2 separate regions of the Homo sapiens genome follow, and region 2 is linked to region 1. Evidence: promoter capture Hi-C in 16 types of primary human blood cells and fetal thymus (Javierre and others, 2016). All regions are on one chromosome and are shown on one strand. The core of a region is centred on a gene start or on the middle of the fragment in contact, and the rest is flanking DNA. Distances in the headings are between cores, read along the strand shown.

Region 1 (5,392 bases), core at 1-2,500:
GAGAAAAGGAGGGGGAACGCAACGGGCTGGGGAGGGGGGAGCGTGAGACCGCCCCAGAGCCGAGGCGACCCCAAATGGGAGAGCAGGAAGAATGACAGGGAGACTCGGAGCGAGTGGGGGAGGGAGGTGAAATGCAGCCGGGCTGGCCTCCTCCAGGCTGCTCTTCCAAATCGCCTCGGCTCATCGGAGATTACCACACTAAAATTAATGCCCACACACAGACCTGGCTAGATAGCAAGAAAGAAGTTTCTCTGCCTGCCTAACTACCGGCTCCCGCCCCTTTGCGCCGAGATAACTCGGAGATAAGGCTGCGCGCAGATAAGCGCTTCGAGGAGAGAAAAAGAGACTAGAAGTTGGTCCGCGGTGTCCCGGGAGCCTGGGAGCCGCCTCAGCCCGCCCGGAGGGAAGGAGGGAAACACCGTCGGAGCCGACCGCGGCCTGGAGAGGGCCGGAGAGCCGGAGGCCAGGGGCCCGCGACGAGTAGGGGTGGAGGGGAGGAAAGCGGGGAGATCGCGCGAGGAGGAAGCAGCCGAACCTCGGGCGGGCGCTGCGCATGGAGAACGGCCGCGGCGGAGGGTGCTCCCAGGCGCGGAGAGAAGCCGAGGGCGCCAGCGGGCGAGCGCGAGTCCGGGGTCTGCGCCGCGCTGCTGGTGAATAAAAAGGAGAGAGGAGGCGCCTCTTACTGCTCTGCCGGAAAACTGCAGCCTGGGCTCCTGATTGGACTCACCGAGCCCTAAACAAACAGCGCTCGCCGAAGGGTGCCAGGCTGTGGGTCGGAACTGCGCTCAGCGAGCAGCTGGGCGCTGGAGGTGAAGAGGAGGAGGAGGGATCGAGGGGAGGAGAGAAAAGAGGGTGGGGAGGGGACGGCGAGGGGGGAGGGGAGCGCGCCGCCCAGGCAGACAATGAGAGCCGCGCTGCCTGCGGGCGTGGGCTGAGCCGCAAGCCCTGTCCCCGGAGTGGGGGCGAGTCCACCCGGGGGGCACCGAGCCCAGGGACCCCGGGGGAGGGGCGGAGGCCACAGAACGCCTGACCTGGCTAGCGACCCGCACCCATCCAGCGGCGGTGCACCCTCCCGCTCCCGCAGTCGCACACACACACCCACACGAGGGAGGGGGAGGGAGCCTTGGCACGGGAGGAGTTGGCAGTGCACAGTCCCGCGCCGCCGCCGCGGCGGGAGGGGCGCTCCAGACCTTGGGTCAGCACGCCCCCAGAAGGAAGGGGGAACGTGCTCTGCGCCCCCCCGCCCCCCAACCCCCGCCTAGCCCCTTCACAGCAAATGCGCTTTTTGCCCTGAAGTTGTGTGAGACCGACCTTAAACTTTCTCCGACCCTATCTCGGGATGCTACGGCTCAGGTCGTGGTGGTTTCGGGAACCTCAAGACAACATTCCCCAGCTGACCTTTGGGAACTTTAACTCGGGTCGTCATGTACGGAAAGGTAGTCTATGGGGTACGCAGAATGGAAAAGGGCTTCCACATCAGTCGTGTCCGAGGACGCTCTCCAACTTTTGATGTCCCTGGAGAGTTTCTGATATTTCCCTGGAGAGTTTCAGGTAAGTCACAGATAAGTCACTGCGAAGAGGGGGTGTCACCTTCCCTGGACCCAGCGCTAAATGCTGCTTCCCCACCCCCACGTTCATATACACACCCCCTCTTCGCTCCCTCCAAACAGTTATCACAACTCTGTACAAACTGATACGGTCCCTAGCGGGCAAAAGGGACTGGAAATGAACGTCGCGGGGTTATCAGCGCCGATCTGTCAGCGGCAACTCGCGCGGCCGCAGGCTCGTCCGCTGCAGGAGCCGTGATATATGTCTCGCTCCCTTTCGCTTACAGAAAGGATTTCTTCCGACAGACGTGACCCCAGAAGGCTGCCGAGGGAGACTTTAGGACAAGAGGCGTTGTTTTTGTGAGAATGAATTTTTATACTTTACCCCGACCCCACCCCCTACCCCCCGCCCAGGTAAATCCAAGTAAATGATTTTCTGAAGGTCGGTCTCCTAGAAAGCGTTTAGGCTCTGGTTTTTTGTTTTGTTTCTATTTTCGTGTTTTCCCAGTTAGGGAAGGAAGAGGAGCCTGTGCAGAGTTGAACTGGGGTGGAGAGGTGCCTTGTAAAGTATGGTTTCCAGAGATGGTGAGACCTCGTAGCTAAGCGTTGTTTCCTCTGCACGTAACTGTGAGTTGTGAACTTGTGGCTCCTGGGGGAGCGGGACAGGGCCTGGCAGTGCGGGGGAGGGGGCAAGGAATTCAGGAAGTTGGCGAGAATTCTTCGTTTTTCATTCTTCGTTGTAAATTGCTTCTAAACACTTCTGAATTTTAAATTGCTACCGAGAAGGTCCAGAAACCGTTCTCATCCAATTTAGTCACTTTTATTACGTTCCACTTTGCCTCCCCCAATCACTGCGGCGGCTCCCAGTTTCAGCGTGGCCGCATTTGGAAAAGGCTGAAGGTAGAAAACTCTGGAATGGAGAGGCTGGCGACTGGAGCAGGATCCAGGGGCTTTAAATTTTAACCTGAATGCGATCGAATGCGCGACTCCCAGAAGAGATAGCCAGGCGTCCGCCCGGCCGCTCAACCCCCGCCAGGACTCGGAATGCCTTGCTTTTGGTTCTTTTCGTGAGTTCCGACCAAATGTTTAAGTGGACTGGGTTTTGCAGAAGCTCATTTGTAAGCACTGACGGAAATGGGTTGTGGGCATTTGATTTCCTTTGATTCCAACGTTTTGAAATAATGTTTCTCGGATTTGCTATTCGAAGCAATTTTCTAAAAACTCATATCTTATTTGCTAAAAATAAACTCTTTGGCTCAGTTTGTGTCCAGGCTGTGTACGGCCTCCAACCCTGAGCCCCGAGGAGATCGAGCCCTGGCGCGAGCCTGATCTCTGTCCTGTGTGTTTCTTTGTATTTGCAAGTACAAGGATGTCTGCGTGGATATCCCTGGACACTCGATACCCCCCGGGGACCTGCTTTTCCCGCAGCTCCGCAGACGCGGCGGGAGGGCGCGCTGGCCCCGGCGCTGCTGGGACAGAGGTGAGCAGCGGGGTGGACATTGACCGATTCGACAACGTTCGGGCTCTAAGGGCTCGGGAAGGGACCCGGCATTTTACCCTCCAGATTCCCAATCTATTTTTAAAAATAATGTTCAAAACATATGGGAAAAATAAGTGATTGCTCCTTTTCATGGTCACAGATTGTATTTATTTTTTCAGACTGGTTTTCCAACCTAACGAGGGAATGGGTAGTGAATGTTGTTGTTGTTGTTGTTGTTTATGTTGGTTAATTTCGAAATAAAACTGTTTAACTCGTACAGTTGATTCAGACAGAAAACCAGGCTGCCTGACGTCTCCAATGTGCCTTTTCCCCAATGCATCTTTGGCGCTAGGGACCGCTCTGGGGAAGACAAGCATGTTTTCAAAGCCACTCCCATGAGCCCCAGACCCGCGCGTGGAGCTTCCTGGGCGCGCCCCAGCTGGTCTGGAAGGCCGGCAAATTAGGAAGTTTGGAGGGAAGAGGTGCACCCCAAACTAGGGAGAAACCCAAGAGCTGGGGAGAAGGCCCCCACTAGTGTCCAAAGTACGCGGACAGCTCTTAAAAGTTATTGTTTTCTTCGTGGGGATATATATTTTTTCTTTTCCTTCCTTTCCTTTTTTTTTTTCTTTCACCCTCGCATGTCTCCTCTTTCGGGATTTGCTAATCTTGAACGAAACTGTTCTCTCCGGACTGTTTCGACCCAATGAGCGGCCCCTCCTGGGCAAGTCGTCCCCCTTACCCTCACAGAGGGCTGGCTCCCGGGCGCGGCCTGTCCCCAGGGTTGATTTATTTCGGCCGCGCCACACCACTATTCGCGATTCGAATCCACCCAGAACACTGCAGCCAATTGGGCAGGGGGCGGGGGCTTGGCTGCCAAACGGGAAGGGTGTTTGGGGACCCAGTCTTGCGCCGCTTCCGGAGGAGCGGCGAGACCCAGCAAGGACCCGCGTCCCCGTGCACCTCCACCCCCGCAAACTCACGCTCATTTTACGATCCTGTCACAAAACTGGCTGCTTCGGCGATGTTTCATAAGGAAAAAGAATGCATTTCTGACTTAAAACATATTTTTAACTTAGATTTTTAACAGCCCAGATTTATGAGGCCTTCTCGCTTATACCATATTTCTTCCCGTCTCTGGGACGCTTTTACCCAAGGACCCGGGGTCACCTCAGAGCCCCCCACCCCTGCCAGCGTCTGGGGCCAGTGGTGGGTTCCGGGCGGCGTGTCCCCCACTCAGCGGCCGCACTGCACGGTAGGCCGTCGACCAGAGTCCTGGCGGTGATTTTCTTTAAGTTTAAATCTCGGGAAACCAAAAACACTCTTTAGAAACGTCAGGTGGTGGCGGCGGAAACTTGCAGGTCGCCCCCACCCCCAGCGCCGGCTCCCGCCGGCGGCCACTTCGGGGAAGGACCGCGCGGAGCCAGCGCCGGGGTCCCCGGGCGGTCGGAATCGAGGCCCGGCGCGTTGCGCAGGCCAGGCCCGGCCCGGAGGCCCCTTGCCCGGCGCAGCCCCCGGCCGACCCCCGTGCGCCGCCGGCGGCCGCCAGCACGGCGCGGAGGTGGGCTAGCGGCGGCGGCGCACGAAAGGTCACCGCGGTGGCATTCCTCTCCGCGCTGTTTACGTGACTTAATGTACTCGCTGCGCCGCGGGTAAGTTCGGGCTGCGATAAGGGGGCGGCCGGGGGAGGGTCGCCGTAAAAGCCCCACGCCGGGCGCCTCCAGCCCTCCCCTCATCCATTAACCTTTTTACTTTCTTCTCCGCTCTCTCTCCAAGCCTGTTATCTAGGCCACCCAATGACCGACGAAAGATTTTCCCTCCCTGCTTCTCCCGTGGCCGCTTTAAACCAAATAAATTTAGCTATTAAGGGCCAAGATGTCTGACAAAAGATCGAAAGGTGTCTTTCCGTGATCGCTTAAAGAAGCGAAGGAGAAGCTTGCGGCTCTCAAATCCCGATAAAGAAATTCCGCGCCGGCGCCGGCCTCCCTCCCCGCGGCCTGGTTGCTCCCTGACGCCCTGAGACCCCGACTTCGGCGGCCGCAGACCTCGGACGGGCCCGGCGGGACCTGTGGCTGCCGCCTGGGGAAGGTGGAGGTCCCCGGGCTGCGGGGCCAGGGAGTGCCAGGCCCTAGGAGACGGGCGGACAAGGGGGTCCCCGGGAGCTCTGGAGCTCCAGGTGGGAGCTGGGTATCCTAAAACGGCCCCCGTGCACTTCGCGGAAAAACTAAGCCAAGCTCAGGGGGCCGAAATTACCACTCCGTTTTGATTATTTTCTGATACTAAATAATAAAGATAAAACCAAACTGCCCCCACCTACCATCCCACTCCCTGTAGGTCTGCTAAGGGGCAGTGTGCTGGTCCACGTCGC
Region 2 (5,392 bases), core at 2,034-4,533, 1.2 Mb after region 1:
AGATGAAAGGGAATGTTCAACTCTGTGACTTGAATGCAGACATCAAAAAGCAGTTTCTGAGAATGCTTCTGTCTAGATTTTATATGAAGATATTCCCGTTTCCAACGAAATCTTCGAAGTTATCCAAATATCCACTTGCAAATTCTACAAAAAGAGTGTTTCCAAACTGCTGTATCAAAAGAAAGGTACAGCTCTGTTAGTTGAGGACACACATCACAAATAAGTTTCTGAGAATGCTTCTGTCTACTTTTTATGGAAAGATATTTCCTTTTTCAACATAGGCCAGAAAGCGCTCAAAATGTCCACTTCCAGATACTACAGAAAGAGTGTTTCAAACCTGCTTTATGAAAGGGAATGTTCAAACCTGTGACTTAAAAGCAAACATCACAAAGAAGCTTCTGAGAATGTTGCTGTCTACTTTTTATATATAATCCCGTTTCCAACGAAATCCTCAAAGCCATCCAAATATCCACTTGCAGATTCCACAAAAAGAGCGTTTCAAAACTGATCTATAAATAGAAAGGTTCAACTCTGTTAGTTGAGTACATATATCCCAAAGAAGTTTCTTAGAATGCTTCTGTCTAGTTTTTATGGGAAGACATTTCCTTTTTCACCAAAGGCGTCAAAGCGCTCCAAATGTCCACTTCCAGATACTACAAAAAGAGTGTTTCAAACCTGCTCTAAGAAAGGGAACGTTCAACTCTGAGACTTGAATGCAGATATCACAAAGTCGTTTCCGAGAGTGCTTCTGTCTAGATTTTATATGAAGATATTCCTGTTTCCAACGATATCTTTAAAGCAATCAAAATATCAAATTGCAGATTCTACAAAAATAGTGTATCAAAGCTGCTCTGTAAAAAGAAAGGTTCCACTCTCTTAGCTGAGTACATACATCACAAACATGTTTCTGAGAATCCTTCTGTCTAGTTTTTATGGGAAGATATTTCCATTTTCACCATAGGCGTCAGAGCGCTCCAAATGTCCACTTCCCGATACTACAAGAAGAGTGTTTCAAACTGGCTCTATGAAAGGGAATGTTCAACTCTACGAGTTGAATGAAAAGATCACAAAGAAGTTTCTGAGAATGCTTCTGTCTAGATTTCATATGAATATATTCCCATTTCCCAGGAAATCCTCTAAGCTATCCAAATATCCACTTGCAGATCCTACAAAAAGAGTGTTTCAAAACTGCTCTGTCAAAAGAAAGGTTCAACTCTGTTAGTTGAGGACACACATCACAAAGAAGTTTCTGAGAATGCTTCTGTGTAGGTTTTACATGAAGATATTGCCATTTCCAACGAAATCCTTAAAGCCATTCAAATATGCACTTGCAGATTCTACAAAAAGAGTGTTTCAAAACGGCTCTGTAAAAAGAAAGGTTCAACTCTGTTAGTTGAGTACACAAATCACAAACAAGTTTCTGAGAATGCTTCTGTCTCGTTTTTATGGGAAGATATTTCCTTTTTCACCAAAATCATTAAAGGGCTCCAAAGGTCCACTTCCAGATACTACAAAAAGAGTGTTTCAAACCTGCTCCATGAAAGGGAATGTTCAACTCTGTGACTTGAATGCCGATATCACAAAGTAGTTTCTGAGAGTGCTTCTGTCTAGATTTTTTATGAAGATATTCCCGTTTCCAACGAAATCGTTAGAGCTATCCAAATATCCACTTGCAGATTCTACAAAAAGAGTGTTTCCAAACTGCTGTATCAAAAGACAGGATGTACTCCGTTGGTTGAGGACACACATCACAAAGAAGTTTCTGAGAATGCCTCTGTCTAGATTTTATATGAAGATATTCCCGTTTCCAATGAAATCCTTAAAGCTCTCCAAATATCCACTTGCAGATTCTCCAAAAAGAGTCTTTCAAAAGTGCTCTGTAAATAGAAAGTTTCAACTCTGTTAGTTGAGGACAAACATCACAATCCAGTTTGTGAGAATGCTTCTGTCTAGTTTTTATGGGAAGATATTTCCTTTTGCACCGTAAGCGTCAAAGCGCTCCAAGTGTCCACATCCAGATACTACGGAAAGAGGGTTTCAAACCTGCTCTATGAAAGGGAATGATCAACTCTGTGACGTGAATGCAGACATCATAAAGCAGTTTCTGAGAATGTTTCTGTCTAGGTTTTCTATGTTGATACTCCCGTTTCCAACGAAATAGTGAGAGCTATCCAACTATCCACTTACATATTCTACAAAAAGAGTGTTTCCAAACTGCTGTATCATAAGAAAGGATGAACTCTGTTAGTTGAGGACACACATCACAAAGAAATTTCTGAGAATGCTTCTGTCTAGTTTTTATGGGAAGATATTTCCGTTTTCAACATAGGCCTGAAATCGCTCGAAATGTCCATGTCCACATACTACAGAAATAGTGTTTCAAACCTGCTCTATGAAAGGGAATGATCAACTCTGTGACGTGAATGCAGACATCATAAAGCAGTTTCTGAGAATTTTTCTGTCTAGGTTTTCTATGTTGATACTCCCGTTTCCAATGAAATAATGAGAGCTATCCAACTATCCACTTACATATTCTACAAAAAGAGTGTTTCAAAACTGCTGTATCATAAGAAAGGATGAACTCTGTTAGTTGAGGACACACATCACAAAGAAATTTCTGAGAATGCTTCTGTCTAGTATTTATGGGAAGATATTTCCGTTTTCAACATAGGCCTGAAATCGCTCGAAATGTCCATGTCCAGATACTACAGAAATAGTGTTTCAAACCTGCTCTATGTAAGGGAATATTCAACTCTGTGACTTAAAAGCAAACATCACAAAGAAGGTTCTGAGAATGCTGCTGTCTACTTTTTATATGTAATCCCGTTTCCAAGGAAATCCTCAGAGCTATCCTAATATCCACTTGCAGATTCCACAACAAGAGCTTCTCAAAACTGACCTATAAATAGAAAGGTTCAACTCTGTTAGTTGAGTACATATATCCCAAAGAAGTTTCTTAGAATGCTTCTGTCTAGTTTTTATGGGAAAACATTTCCTTTTTCACCAAAGGCGTCAAAGCGCTAAAAATGTCCACTTCCAGATACTACAAAGTGTCTCAAACCTGCTCTAAGAAAGGGAATGTTCAACTCTGTGACTTGAGTGCAGATATCACAAAGCAGTTTCTGAGAGTGCCTCTGTCTAGATTTTATATGAAGGTATTCCCATTTCCTATGAAATCGTTAGAGCTATCCAAATATCCACTTGCATATTCTACAAAAGGAGTGTTTCGAAACTGCTGTATCAAAAGAAAGGTTGAACTCTGTTAGTTAAGGACACACATCACAAAGAAGTTTCTGAGAATGCTTCTGTGTAGATTTTACATGAATATAGTCCCGTTTCCAAGGAAATCCTTAAAGCCATCCAATTATCCACTTGCAGATTTTACAAAAAGAGTGTTTCAAAACTGCTGTGTAAAAAGAAACGTTCAACTCTGTCAGTTGAGTACACACATCACAAACAAGTTTCTGAGAATGCTTCTGTCTAGTTTTTATGGGAAGATATTTCCTTTTTCTCCAAAGTCGGCAAAGCGCTCCAAAGATCCATTTCCAGATACAACAAAAAGAGTGTTTCAAACCAGCTCTATGAAAGGGAATGTTCAACTCTGTGACTTGAATGCAGATATCACAAAGTACCTCCTGAGAGTGCTTCTGTCTAGATTTTATATGAAGATATTCCCGTTTCCAAGGAAATCGTCAGAGCTATCCAAATATCCACTTGCAGATTCTGCAAAAAGAGTGTTTCCAAACTGCTGTATCCAAAGACAGGTTGTACTCTGTTAGGTGGGGACACATATCACAAAGAAGTTTCTGAGAATGACTTTTCCGTTTCCAATGAAATCTACTTAAAGGTATCCAAATATCCGCTTGCAGATTCTACAAAAAGAGTCTTTCAAAACTGCCCTGTAAATAGAAAGGTTCAACTCTGTTAGTGGAGGACATACATCACAAAGCAGTTTGTGAGAAGGCTTCTGTCTAGTTTTTAAGGGAAGATATTTCCTATGTCACCGTACGCGTCAAAGCGCTCAAATGTCCACATCCAGATACTACAGAAACGGTGTTACAAACGTGCTCGATGAAAGAGAATGTTCAATTCTGTGACTTGAATGCAGACATCACAAAGCAGTTTCTGAGAGTGCCTCTGTCTAGATTGTATATGAAGATATTCCCGTTTCCAACGAAATCTTCAAAGTTATCGAAATATCCGCTTGCAGATACTACAAAAAGAGTGTTTCTAAACTGTTGTATCAAAAGAAACGTTCAACTCTGTTAGTTGAGGACACCCATCACAAATAAGTTTCTGAGAATGCTTCTGTCTACTTTTTATGGGAAGTTATTTCCTTTTTCAACATAGGCCTGACATCGCTCGAAATGTCCACTTAGAGATACTACAGAAAGAGTGTTTCAAAACTGCTCTATGGAAGGGAATGTTCAACTCTGTGACTTAAAAGCAAACATCACAAGGAGCTTCTGAGAATGCTGCTGTCTATATTTTATATGTAATCCCGATTCCAACGAAATCCTCAGAGCTATCCAAATATCCACTTGCAGATTCCACAAAAAGAGCATTTCAAACTGATCTATAAAGAGAAAGGTTCAACTCGGTTAGTTGAGTGCATATATCACAAAGAAGTTTCTTAGAATGCTTCTGTCTAGTTTTTATGGGAAGACATTTCCTTTTTCACCAAAGGCGTGAAAGCGCTCCAAATGTCCACTTCCAGATACTACAAAAAGTGTGTTTCAAACGTGCTCTAAGAAAGGGAATGTTCAACTCTGTGACCTGAATGCAGATATCACAAAGTAGCTCCTGAGAGTGCTTCTGTACAGATTTTATATGAAGACATTCCCGTTTCCAACGAAATCGTTAGAGCTATCCAAATATCCACTTGAAGATTCTACAAAAAGAGTGTTTCCAAACTGCTGTATCAAAAGAAAGGTTGAACTCTGTTAGTTGAGGACACACATCACAAAGAAGATTCTGAGAATGCTTCTGTGTAGATTTTACATGAATATAGTCCCGTTTCCAACGAAATCCTTAAAGTCATCCAATTATCCACTTGCAGATTCTACAAAAAGAGTGTTTCAAAACTGCTGTGTAAAAAGAAACGTTCAACTCTGTCAGATGAGTACACACAACACAAACAAGTTTCTGAGAATGCTTTGGTGTAGTTTTTATGGGGACATATTTCCTTTTTCACCAAAGTCGTCAAAGAGCTCCAAAGATCCACTTCCAGATACAAAAAAAGAGTGTTTCAAACCAGATCTACGAGAGGGAATGTTCAACTCTGTGACTTGAATGCAGATCTCACAAAATTAGTTTCTGAGAGTGCCTCTGCCTAGATTTTATATGAAGCTATTCCCGTTTTCAACAAAATCGTTAGAGCTATCGAAATATC

Evidence for each region. The method cuts DNA at HindIII sites, captures the fragments that hold promoters and counts their contacts. A CHiCAGO score of 5 or more calls a contact.
Region 2: a fragment that was not itself captured here is called in contact with the fragment with the promoter of GATA6-AS1 in region 1 in 7 of 17 cell types (naive B cells, naive CD4 T cells, activated CD4 T cells and 4 more); the score reaches 14.0 in naive B cells.

Annotation. Positions count from the first base shown.
Region 1 is chr18:22,164,826-22,170,217 of GRCh38, reverse strand. GATA6-AS1 (GATA6 antisense RNA 1 (head to head)) reads left to right here and starts at 1,250. Exons shown (of 2, transcript NR_102763.1): 1 at 1,250-1,551; 2 at 1,835-3,320. GATA6 (GATA binding protein 6) reads right to left here and starts at 629. Exons shown (of 7, transcript NM_005257.6): 1 at 536-629. RefSeq lists enhancers at 2,481-2,984, 4,604-5,182. The HindIII fragment of the contact is 8,900 bases long and covers 1-4,961 here.
Region 2 is chr18:20,932,453-20,937,844 of GRCh38, reverse strand. No RefSeq gene overlaps it. Among named protein-coding and RNA genes, the nearest start is that of ROCK1, 180 kb to the left of the region's middle. RefSeq lists enhancers at 1,696-2,303, 2,304-2,909, 2,910-3,517, 3,518-4,123, 4,124-4,731 and 5 more. The HindIII fragment of the contact is 5,772 bases long and covers 398-5,392 here.